2 separate regions of the Homo sapiens genome follow, and region 1 is linked to region 2. Evidence: promoter capture Hi-C in human tissues and cell types (Jung and others, 2019). All regions are on one chromosome and are shown on one strand. Each heading gives the region's core, a stretch centred on a gene start or on the middle of the fragment in contact. The rest is flanking DNA. Distances are from core to core; before and after follow the strand shown. Region 1 overlaps CDC14A (cell division cycle 14A). Region 2 holds the start of S1PR1 (sphingosine-1-phosphate receptor 1).

Region 1 (4,836 bases), core at 961-3,460, 870 kb after region 2:
ATTTCTAACAATCAGATTGGCTTAGCCACATGTACTTTTGAAAGCAATATGGTTCACATATGAACCTATTTCACCAAACACCAGGAAATAAAATTGGCATACTACAATAACACAGGAGAAAGTAAATCAAATACAAACATTATCCTTAAGTTGATCTGTACTCTCCAACATGGTAGCCACTAGTCATGGCTATTTAAATTTAAATTAACTAAGGTGAAACAAATTAAAAATTCTTCAATTATTTCAAATGTGTTCAAAAGCCACACGTAGCTAATGGCTACAGAATTCAACAATGTTCTGCACTGATGGACAATACTGATCAAGATGAAAAGACATATCAAAATAACTATAAAAGATAAAAGAAATTACCAAGTACCATAAACGAAGTATAGATAAAATGTTTGAAGACAATATCCTTTCCCTACAAAGGCCCAATTATTTCCCAACAGTGAGAATAGGCCCTGGTAATTTTTATCCTGTTTTGTTCAAGAGGGTCATATTTCCAAAAAGCCAGTTGGGACTTGGAACATAAGAGAATGGAAAAATAGGTGAGGATCTAGTTCCCACCCTCCTTCACTGTCTCTCAAAAAGACAGGCTGTTTTAAGAGTAGGCTGCTATCCAAAGATAGCAACAATGAAGAAGTTATGCCTCTCTTTTGGCAAGAGCCTCAGGTTAAAGGTAGAAAAAAAATAAGCAATCCTAACCCAGAGGACTTCCCACCCCACAGTATGTTGAAGCTCAGTGGGCCAGCCTTTATATCCCACAAAAAGACGGATGAGCTTCAAGTTACACTAAAAAAATTCAGTCAAAAGTTTTGCACAACCAAGAGCAATTTTGAACAAGTCTTCAAAAGTCAGAATTGTCACAAATATAAAGCCAACAAGCTCTATCTTATCTTAAGGTCATTTGATACAATACTTACACTTGTAAGACTATTTATGTATTTAAAATAATATAGTCTTATACATATAGTTTTCTAGCTTACTATTAATAAATATATTTTTAAATGTCAAGATCATTGAAAAATTGCTGATAGTTGTTCACACCATGCTGGGTTATCACCAACTTTGGTATAATGAAATACTGTGAATAAAGAAGACATCTTCCAACAACATGCTCCTTTGTAAGAACCTTCTTCACCAGAGTTGAGGGAAAAATGAAAACATACTTATAATACATACTATTAGCTAGAGGGAAATTCAAAATAAAAATTAATTGATAATCAATGAAAATAATCAAATGTGCTAGATTTATTTGGGCAGCTTGGAACAAAAGCAGGGTGGAAGAGGAGAAATGGAAGGTCATCAACCTGGGGATAGTGAAAAGGGAGGAGATGGTAGAAATAAGTACTTCAGAGACTATTCAGAAATCTGAGGGCTGAGTGCACTCCTAAACTTGAAGTTAATGACAATGGACAGAGTCTTCTCCACTCTGGCATTTCCTAGGAAAAGGCTTCCAGAGCCACAGCCAAGCACGGGTCCCCACTTTGTCTTGGCAGAGGGGAGTAGTCTTTTGGTCTCATGTGGCCAGGGAAAAACACGGACATTTTATTATTTCAGAGTACCCGTGCGTTCATCTCCAAATGAATTAACAAATGAACGAATGATTCTCTCCACCTATTTGCAGATTTCTTCTAAGAAGATTGGCAAATTATGGGTCAATGCCTACAATGAAACTCATGAACTATTAAGGGAAAATCGGTCCATCCATCTTTTTATTCAGTAAGTGTAAATAGCTAAAATCAAACCCTTTTCTGTTTTGACAGGAAAGAAACTAAAAGAATTGGAGCATTTGGAGTCCTGCAAGTGGAGGAGGAAGGAGGTTCATCTCCTTACCAGGAGAACAAAGAAACAGGAGCCCAAGGATCAGAGCAAACATTCACAAGGGTAGGATCACCCACCACCCCACAGGTGCAGGTCCTACAAATTTGAAGGGACATAGAAGCTGGGCCTAAAAGCCTTGCTGTCATACTCAACATGTGCAGCTCTTCTCACAGATTTATGAAGTTTATGATGTACCATTATTTTGTCTTCGGTTTTTCTAATAAACTATAATTTAAGTGAGTCAATTCCCAGAGGAATCATTGTTTGAAGTATTGTTATACCTTATTCTACACATTAGAAGCTTCATGTGAAAATTCCCAACACCTCAGCAAAAAGATAAGCTACATTCCAAGAAGTACTCATTCATTCAACAAAATTTATGACTACCTATTCTGAGCAAGGCATTACTAGTTAGCATATTCATCACAGAGTACTTGCAATACAAAAAAAATTAACTGCTTTAAAAACAGGATGAATAAATTCTATAAGATCGTTATAAGGCATGCCAACCTTTCAATGTTTTACCAGCACTGCTGACGTTTTTTGTCTCTTCATTCACTTGCTCACTCAAATAGTTACTAAAAGCCTATTGGTCACCAGTCCCTACCCACAAGGAGCTCACTATCTACTGAGAAGACAGGTAAAGACATTATTACAATGTGATAAATGCTAAAATAGCAGTATCCTCCAAAACACAATGAGACCGTGTGTGTGTGTGTGTGTGTGTGTGTGTGTGTGTGTAAAATTTTGTTGAAATTGATCAGCAATGCCTCTGGGCCACACATTACCTAACAGTTTCCCTATCACTAGAATACTATCCGCACCCCTCCAGTCAGATGATAAAGTTTCTGTATGAGACGTGATTATTATGGCTGAACTCATAATGATCACATTTTAAAAAGGTCCTAACTGCATAACAAATACCAACCTCAGATGAGGGCACTAGTCTGAGTTTTTGCTCAAGCCCTTTAGCATAACCACCCACAGTCACACTGATGCCAACTTCTTGGGGAAGAGTTGCTGCACATCTAACAAGCTTCCCACACACACAGCAGTCTGATGCAGAACTAAAGATCACTGGGTGCCAAAAGGTTCCAGTCCCAATTTGGTCACTCAGTGTCCCTAATCTGGTGTCGTAGCCTCTCTGGGACTCCACGTCCTCATCTATCAAATGAAGCCACTGAATTAGATGGCTCCTAAAGTTCTTTCCAGCTCTTATGTAATATCATATATCACAGTTCTAGCCGCTATATAGACTCTACAGAGTCTATGACTCTAGTTATCCTTATTGGACAAACCCATTCAACTGTTCAAATGTTTCTCAAGGTCTACTTGCCCTATTTGATGTTCTCTGTTCTGTCTGTCCTCTCAGTGCATTGGGTCTGGGTACAGAAAACATTTCCCTCAGAGTGTCTCCTCTTTGAGGAAGGAAAAGAACACAACTTTTTCCATGAAATTCACTGTTTTCTGCACAGCCAGAAAGCAAACCCACAGACTACAAAGCAGCTACATGTATTAGGAAACTTATCATCTTTATTACTTACTTGTCTGCAAAAAGTCTGACATTTGTTGAGATCATAAAGGAAGGAGAGAACCCCAATATCAACTATCAATCCTGTCCCTTGATGCATTGTCTAGATTTCTAAGAAAGTTCAGGTTTACAACACCAGAGGGTGAGGAACCATTCTCCACTTATTACCTTCTTAACCCGAGGTAAATACTGGTCAGGTCAGGTGTCAGCTGCTGTTTCTGTAAAATAAGTGAGTGCTTTCACTTTGCCTTAAAGCCAAACAACAGACCAGATGGTATCAAGAAACCTTCCAGTATCAGGGTCTGTAATTCTAACATCCCTCGTTAGAGAAGGTCAGTTAATAAAAACTCCCTTAGAGACTCAGATTAACGAAAACAAAAGGAGACTTCTTCAGGAATGCACTGGGAAAATTAAAATTCACTCCCACAGAAATATTCTCAAGCAGTGTAAATTAACTCCATTATTCAATGGCTAGTACTGAAGGCAGGAGAGCTATACAGACAGTATATGCAAAGCTTTGTTAGAAAACAGAATGATGAGCGATTCCCCCATACATAAAAGGCTAACCCTCAGATTTCATAAAGTGGCTGAGGCTCTCAAAAGGAAAATAATTACTCTAAAATTTGTGGTGAGGATCACAGGGCCGGGGGCAACGGCTCCGCCTGTAATCCCAGCACTTTGGGAGGCCGAGGCGGGCGGATCACGAGGTCAAGAGATTGAGACCATCCTGGCCAACATGGTGAAACCCTGTCTCTATTAAAAAAAAAAATACAAAAATTAGCTGGGTGTGGTGGCATGCACCTGTAGTCCCAGCTACTTGGGAGTCTGAGGCAAGAGAATCGCTTGAACCTGGGAGGCAGAGGTTGCAGTGAGCCGACATCGGGCCACTGCACTCCAGCCTGGCAACAGAGCGAGACTCCATCTCAAAAATAAAAAATTAAAAAAAAAAAAGATGATCATCCATAATGATGAAGTCTGTGTATGACAGAAAAAAAGTAAATTGTGATCAATAAATTTTTTTTTTGTGACAGGGTCTTGATCTGCCACCTAGGCTGAGTGCTGTGGCATGCTCATGGTTCACTGAAGCCTCGACCTCCTAAGCTCAAGTGATCCTCCCACCTCAGCCTCCAGAGTAGCTAGGACTACAGCCATGTGGAACATGCCTGGCTAATTTTTGTATTTTTTGTAGAGACAGGGTTTCAGCATGTTGCTCGAGCAATCTGCCCACCTTGGCCTCCCAAAGCGTGGAATTAGAAGCGTGAGCCACTATGCCTGGCCAGTAAATTCTTTAAGAAGGCAGAAATGTATATTCATTTTAGAAAGGTTTCCGTAAATTATTCAAATTATAAAACTTTGATATTTCAGAATGTAATTTTCCAATTCTCTGTAGAAGCTGTCTCACTGAAATGCCACATATCCAGATACACAAAACTGAATAAATGCATTACTAAAGTACATCAATCATGGGGACCAAATTTGAA
Region 2 (5,056 bases), core at 2,557-5,056:
AGTGACTTCAACCAAATTCCAAAAAACGGATCCCGCTTACATGGAAACTTTGGCCTCAGCGAAGGACATTGTTTTACACCTCCAAACCATCTTCATCTTCCCACAGCCTACGTACTCAACATAGCCTATTTGCTATAGATGATCGATCATTCCACAACCCCAGCTCTGATAACTCTCAGGTAGTTAAAGTATAAAGTAAAAGAACGTTGAGGAGGGGTATGAAGGGAAGGGAGGGTGGGGTGTGGGATGTACAGGGCATCCCTAAAGAAGCAGAAGTGCACACACTCACTTGGGTTTGAAACTAAAGTGAAGGAAAACATCTCCTCAAAGCTCCAGACAAAGAGACGCTTTCACATGGGGACATTAGTCTTTGAGGAGGGGCCAAATGAACCCTTTAGGAGCTTGACAATGCTAGACCTTTGGCTCAGTGCAAAATCAAAGCTCCAGGGGGGTAGAAAATATATTCCAGGCCGGGACCTGATCTCCACCCTTCCCAGTGCATTGTTCACAGGAACTAACTCTACCCACCAACACCCGACACCACCAGGCTGTTCGTATTCTCCCCCTTCCTCCCTCTGGCTTGCAGCAGCTCCTCCCTGGCAGCAGTCGAAGCCCAGAGATTTTTTTCCAAACACTGGGGTGGCCAGCGACCAAGTAAAGAGCGCTTCCGGTGGGTGGACAGCTTCCAGTTCTAGGAAGAAGAGTTGACGTTTCCAGAAGACATAATGGTCTCTGGGTTGTCCCCTTCGTCTTTCTGGGGGTGGGAGGAATTGTCCGATTTGCTGCGGCTGAATTCCATGCCGGCGATGATGGGTCGCTTGAATTTGCCAGCAGAGTCTCCGCTCGGGCACTTGCAGCAGGACATGATCCGGATGAAGGCCCGACGCATCTCCTTGTTGGTCAGAGTGTAAATGATGGGGTTGGTGCCGGAGTTGAGCACAGCTAACACCAGGAAGTACTCCGCTCTGAAGAGGATGTCACAGGTCTTCACCTTGCAGCCCACATCCAGCAGGAGCAGGATGAAGAGCGGTGCCCAGCAGGCGATGAAGACGCTCAGGACGATAATTACGGTCTTGAGCAGCGCCAGCGACTTCTCAGAGCTGCGGCTGGCCTTGGAAATGTTCTTGCGGAACGTCAGGCGGCGGCTCCGAGTCCTGACCAAGGAGTAGATTCTGCAGTACAGAATGACGATGGAGAGCAGAAGCAGAGTGAAGACCGTGGTGCAGAAGAGGATATAGTGCTTGTGGTAGAGCGGCAGCACGGTGGAGCAGCTGGACAGCGCACTGATGCAGTTCCAGCCCATGATAGGCAGGCCACCCAGGATGAGGGAGATGACCCAGCAGGCGCTGATTAGCAGGAAGAGGCGGAAGTTATTGCTCCCGTTGTGGAGTTTCATTTTCAGCATTGTGATATAGCGCTCAATGGCGATGGCGAGGAGACTGAACACGGAGGCTGACAGGGCCACAAACATACTCCCTTCCCGCAGAAACCACTGGGCGGGAGTGAGCTTGTAGGTGGTGGCCCCAGACAAGAGCAGGTTAGCTGTGTAGGCTACTCCTGCCAACAGGTCTGAGAGGGCCAGATTGCCAATAAAATAGTACATGGGTCGGTGGAATTTCTTGGTTTTCCAAATGGTCAGCAAGACAAAGATGTTCTCCAGGATGATAAAGCAGCAGATGAGAATGAACACCACCGAGGTCAGTTTAATGCTGTTCTCCTTGTCCGCGCTGATATTCAGCTTTCCCGTGTAGTTGTAATGCCGGACGATGATATCATAGTTGACGTAGTCAGAGACCGAGCTGCGGTGGGCCTTGACCAGCGGGACGCTGGTGGGCCCCATGGTGCCAACCCTGTGTCCCCAGGAAGCCGGGGTGGCGCTACTCCAGACGAACGCTAGAGGGCGAGGCGAGAGAGCCTTCACTGGCTTCAGGGGTGGTTCGATGAGTGATCCAGGCTTTTTGTGTAGCTTTTCCTTGGCTGGAGAGGGCCTCGGAAACCGCAGCCTTAAACAAGTCAGAGGAGAGAGTCAGGGAAAGAGCCACAGCATACTGGCATAATTCATTCTAGCTAAGGCACTGCTCCAATTGTGTTGTTGTTGATTTGTTTTAAAGAAACTTGGGGAGAGCTCAGGGAGAGAGATTTTTTTTAAAAATCAAATTATCTTTTTTCTTCCTTTTTTTTCTTTTTTCAAAAAAGGAAGAGGGGGAAGAAAAAGAGAGGGAGAAACTCTATGGCCACATTCACTCAAAGGGAAATGGGAATTACGATGTTGGCTGTGGGTTGACAAAAAAAAAAAGATGATGAAAAGGAAAACAAGGAGTGGGAGGAATGGGAAACCTAGAGAACTACACCCCATTTTAACTCCACTCCTGCCCTCTCACCACCCCACACCCCCTCACCCCCGGATTTCCAGCCATGAGATTCTCTGAAGCAGTCACCAGCTTAGCTGCACGCTCAATACCAGCCCACGTCTCTCCTCGGAAAAGACTCAACTGCCAGTCTGAGGGCGAAGACACACACCTCTGTCCCCCATGCCCACCCCCAGCCCCCCAGTTCAAAGATACTAGCACCACCTCCTAATTGCCATGTGCCATGCAAGAAATCAGATTTGCAGGAAAATCATTTGAAAGCGTAAGCCATTTGGGGGCTCTATTAATAACTCTCTAGGAGCAGGTGTGCTTAGGGTCCGAGGGCGCAGTGAGGTGTGGGCAGCCAGGCCCGCCCCGCCTTGCTGTAAACAGGAAAGCTTAGCGCCTCCGTGAAGCGACTGCCTTTTCTTTCTTCTTCTTATTCTCCCCGCCTCCCCCCGCGCCCCCCCACCCCACCCCCCACCCCAAGCCAGGGCAAGTAAATTTAAAGGTATTCAGTTAAAACCATTCATAACAGATTGCAGCAAATCCCAGAAGTTTCGTACATTAGTTGATTGCATAAATATTTTTTGCTTTGTTTAGTTTAGCCAAAACATACACAAAAGAGAGAAATCAAACTACTCATGACAGCCATAATACATGCTACCACATTTCTAATTTCGATTGCAAAACTACTCTTCAGAAACTCACATTAAACTGCTCCCTGGTGCATTGCTAAATTTGCGTGGGCAGTTTTATTTACTGCAGTCCCCCAACACGTTGACTCCTCTCCTAGGACTAGAAAGTTACAAAGAAACTTTCTAAGACGGCACTGGTCAGCAGAAGTCTACTTCTAAGTTGCTTAAATATTTCAAGGTAATGCAGCAATGCAATAAAATGAGGTAATAGAGATGAGAACAATCCCAGCAACTCCGCGAACAGCAGAGGCTGCTCAAGCCAAGAAGCTCCGCATTTTCCCCCAACTAATTTTATACCCTGCTCCTGGGCAGTACTAATTTAAGCCATTACCCACGCTCCACACCACCCACCATATTCTTTGTCTATAGGATTTCCAAAATTTAACGCCTTCCCTCCTATTCCTCCGACCAACTGCAATTTTCACTGCCCCTACACCCGTAGGTTCCACAGTTGGGAATTAACCTTTTTTCTGAACTCCATAAATCACAAGTGCCCAAGAACAATCTGATCGAGATGGGCTCCTTAGTAGCCCAGAGATGCAAATTTTCAGCGCCCGGAGATGCATGTTTTCTAAGTTTTTGTTTGCCTCGTTCGACTTAAAAATTCGTTTCTGACACCTAAGCCCTACCACAACCGGGCTCCCCGCGCCCGCGACCCCCGCCATTCGCCGCCCCCTACCTCGCTCAAGCAGGGCGAAGTTGCGTTCGGAGAGCCCGGGATCTGTACGGCTCGCTTCGCATCTTGCTGCTGCCCCCGACTGACTGCGTAGTGCTCTCGCAAACTTACTCGAGTCGGGGTCCCCTCCCTCCGCAGCGGAGCACTCCAATGGCCAGTCCCGCTCGCCGCGGCCAGTTCCCTGCCTGCTACGCGAAGTCACCCAGCGCCGCGCCAAGGCTGGGTGGTTTCTTCAGGAAGAGGCTGGGAGGGGTTAATGCCTTAACCCCCCACGCCCTCTGTCAGCTGGGGGCCCCCGGATCTGAACTGCTGAGACGCACTGTCCAGGAAAGATCTGGGGCAGAAGCAAAAAAAAAAAAAAAAAAAAAAAAAAGAACCCCTCCTCCCCAAACAACAAATGAAAGAAAAAAAGAGAGAGAGAGAAGGGGCGGAGCCCGGTAACCCCTGGATTCTACTGTATAAATCACTGCCCTCGCCCAGATAGACGCTGATCCCTGGCTGTGGAGAGGATTCTCCCGAGCCCCTGAAAAAAAAAAAAGGTGGAGAGACTTTGAAAACTTTTCTCTCGAAAAGTCTGAGGAGGCAGAGGACGGCCCGGAGTCTCGTAGCGCACCGCCCTGGTCCCACACCCCCCGCAGCCCTAGGAGGATCGGTGTGCTGAGCTTGTGGCCAGGAGCTCCCCGAGCCACTTTCGCGCGAGCAGCAGAAAACCTGAGCCGCGGCCCGGCGAGTGTCGGCGGCGCTCTGGGGAGGAGAGGCTGGGAAGGGGCTGCGAGAGGTACGGAGGAGACAAGCAGCCCGGGAGGGAGAATGAACCGGGAGGTTCCTGTACTCCCCCCGCCACCCCAGATCCTCGTGCTACTCGCAACTGCGGTCTGAGGGGCAGTGGCTTTCCCAGAGTGCACAGAGAAATGAACCAGCGCCGGTTTTGGTGTTGGGCGAGGGGTTTCCCTCAGCTGAGCACAAAGTCAGGCTGTGTGTCCCAGATTCTGGCCAATGGAGAGGTCGTTGAGGGGGTGGGCTGCTGCTGAGTCCTGAGAGATTCAAAACGCCTGGGCAGCTCAGGAATTTCCAAAGGGGGAGATTCTCGGCCAGGAGCTGCGGAGCAACTGCAGCTGCCCAGCAGGAGCCGGCACCCTTCTCTCACATTCTGCTTGGGAGTCGACTCAGAGGCCTCAAATCTCATTACTAGCACTTTGCCCACCCTTTTCTTTTGCTTAGATGCTACTTAAGAACGTGAGGCTGAGAGGCGGACTTGGTCAGATCTGCCTGCGTGACAAGCTCAGGACAGGACGCTTCTGCCCTTGCATTACTGTTGTAAAAGTTTCCACCCA

What was found. Contacts are between HindIII fragments. The study calls those that stand out against the background at their distance.
Region 1: a fragment that was not itself captured here is called in contact with the fragment with the promoter of S1PR1 in region 2 in 1 of the 25 tissues and cell types used here (lymphoblastoid cells).

What each region holds. Positions count from the first base shown.
Region 1 is chr1:100,363,671-100,368,506 of GRCh38, reverse strand. All of the region lies in intron 2 of CDC14A (cell division cycle 14A), which reads right to left. Among named protein-coding and RNA genes, the nearest start is that of CDC14A, 14 kb to the right of the region's middle. The HindIII fragment of the contact is 5,317 bases long and covers 1-4,836 here.
Region 2 is chr1:101,235,769-101,240,824 of GRCh38, reverse strand. S1PR1 (sphingosine-1-phosphate receptor 1) reads right to left here and starts at 3,806. Exons shown (of 2, transcript NM_001400.5): 1 at 3,726-3,806; 2 at 1-2,003. The coding sequence starts at 1,840. The coding sequence ends at 692. S1PR1-DT (S1PR1 divergent transcript) reads left to right here and starts at 4,297. Exons shown (of 2, transcript NR_104626.1): 1 at 4,297-4,500; 2 at 4,944-5,056. RefSeq lists enhancers at 1,944-1,993, 4,627-4,716. The HindIII fragment of the contact is 36,645 bases long and covers 1-5,056 here.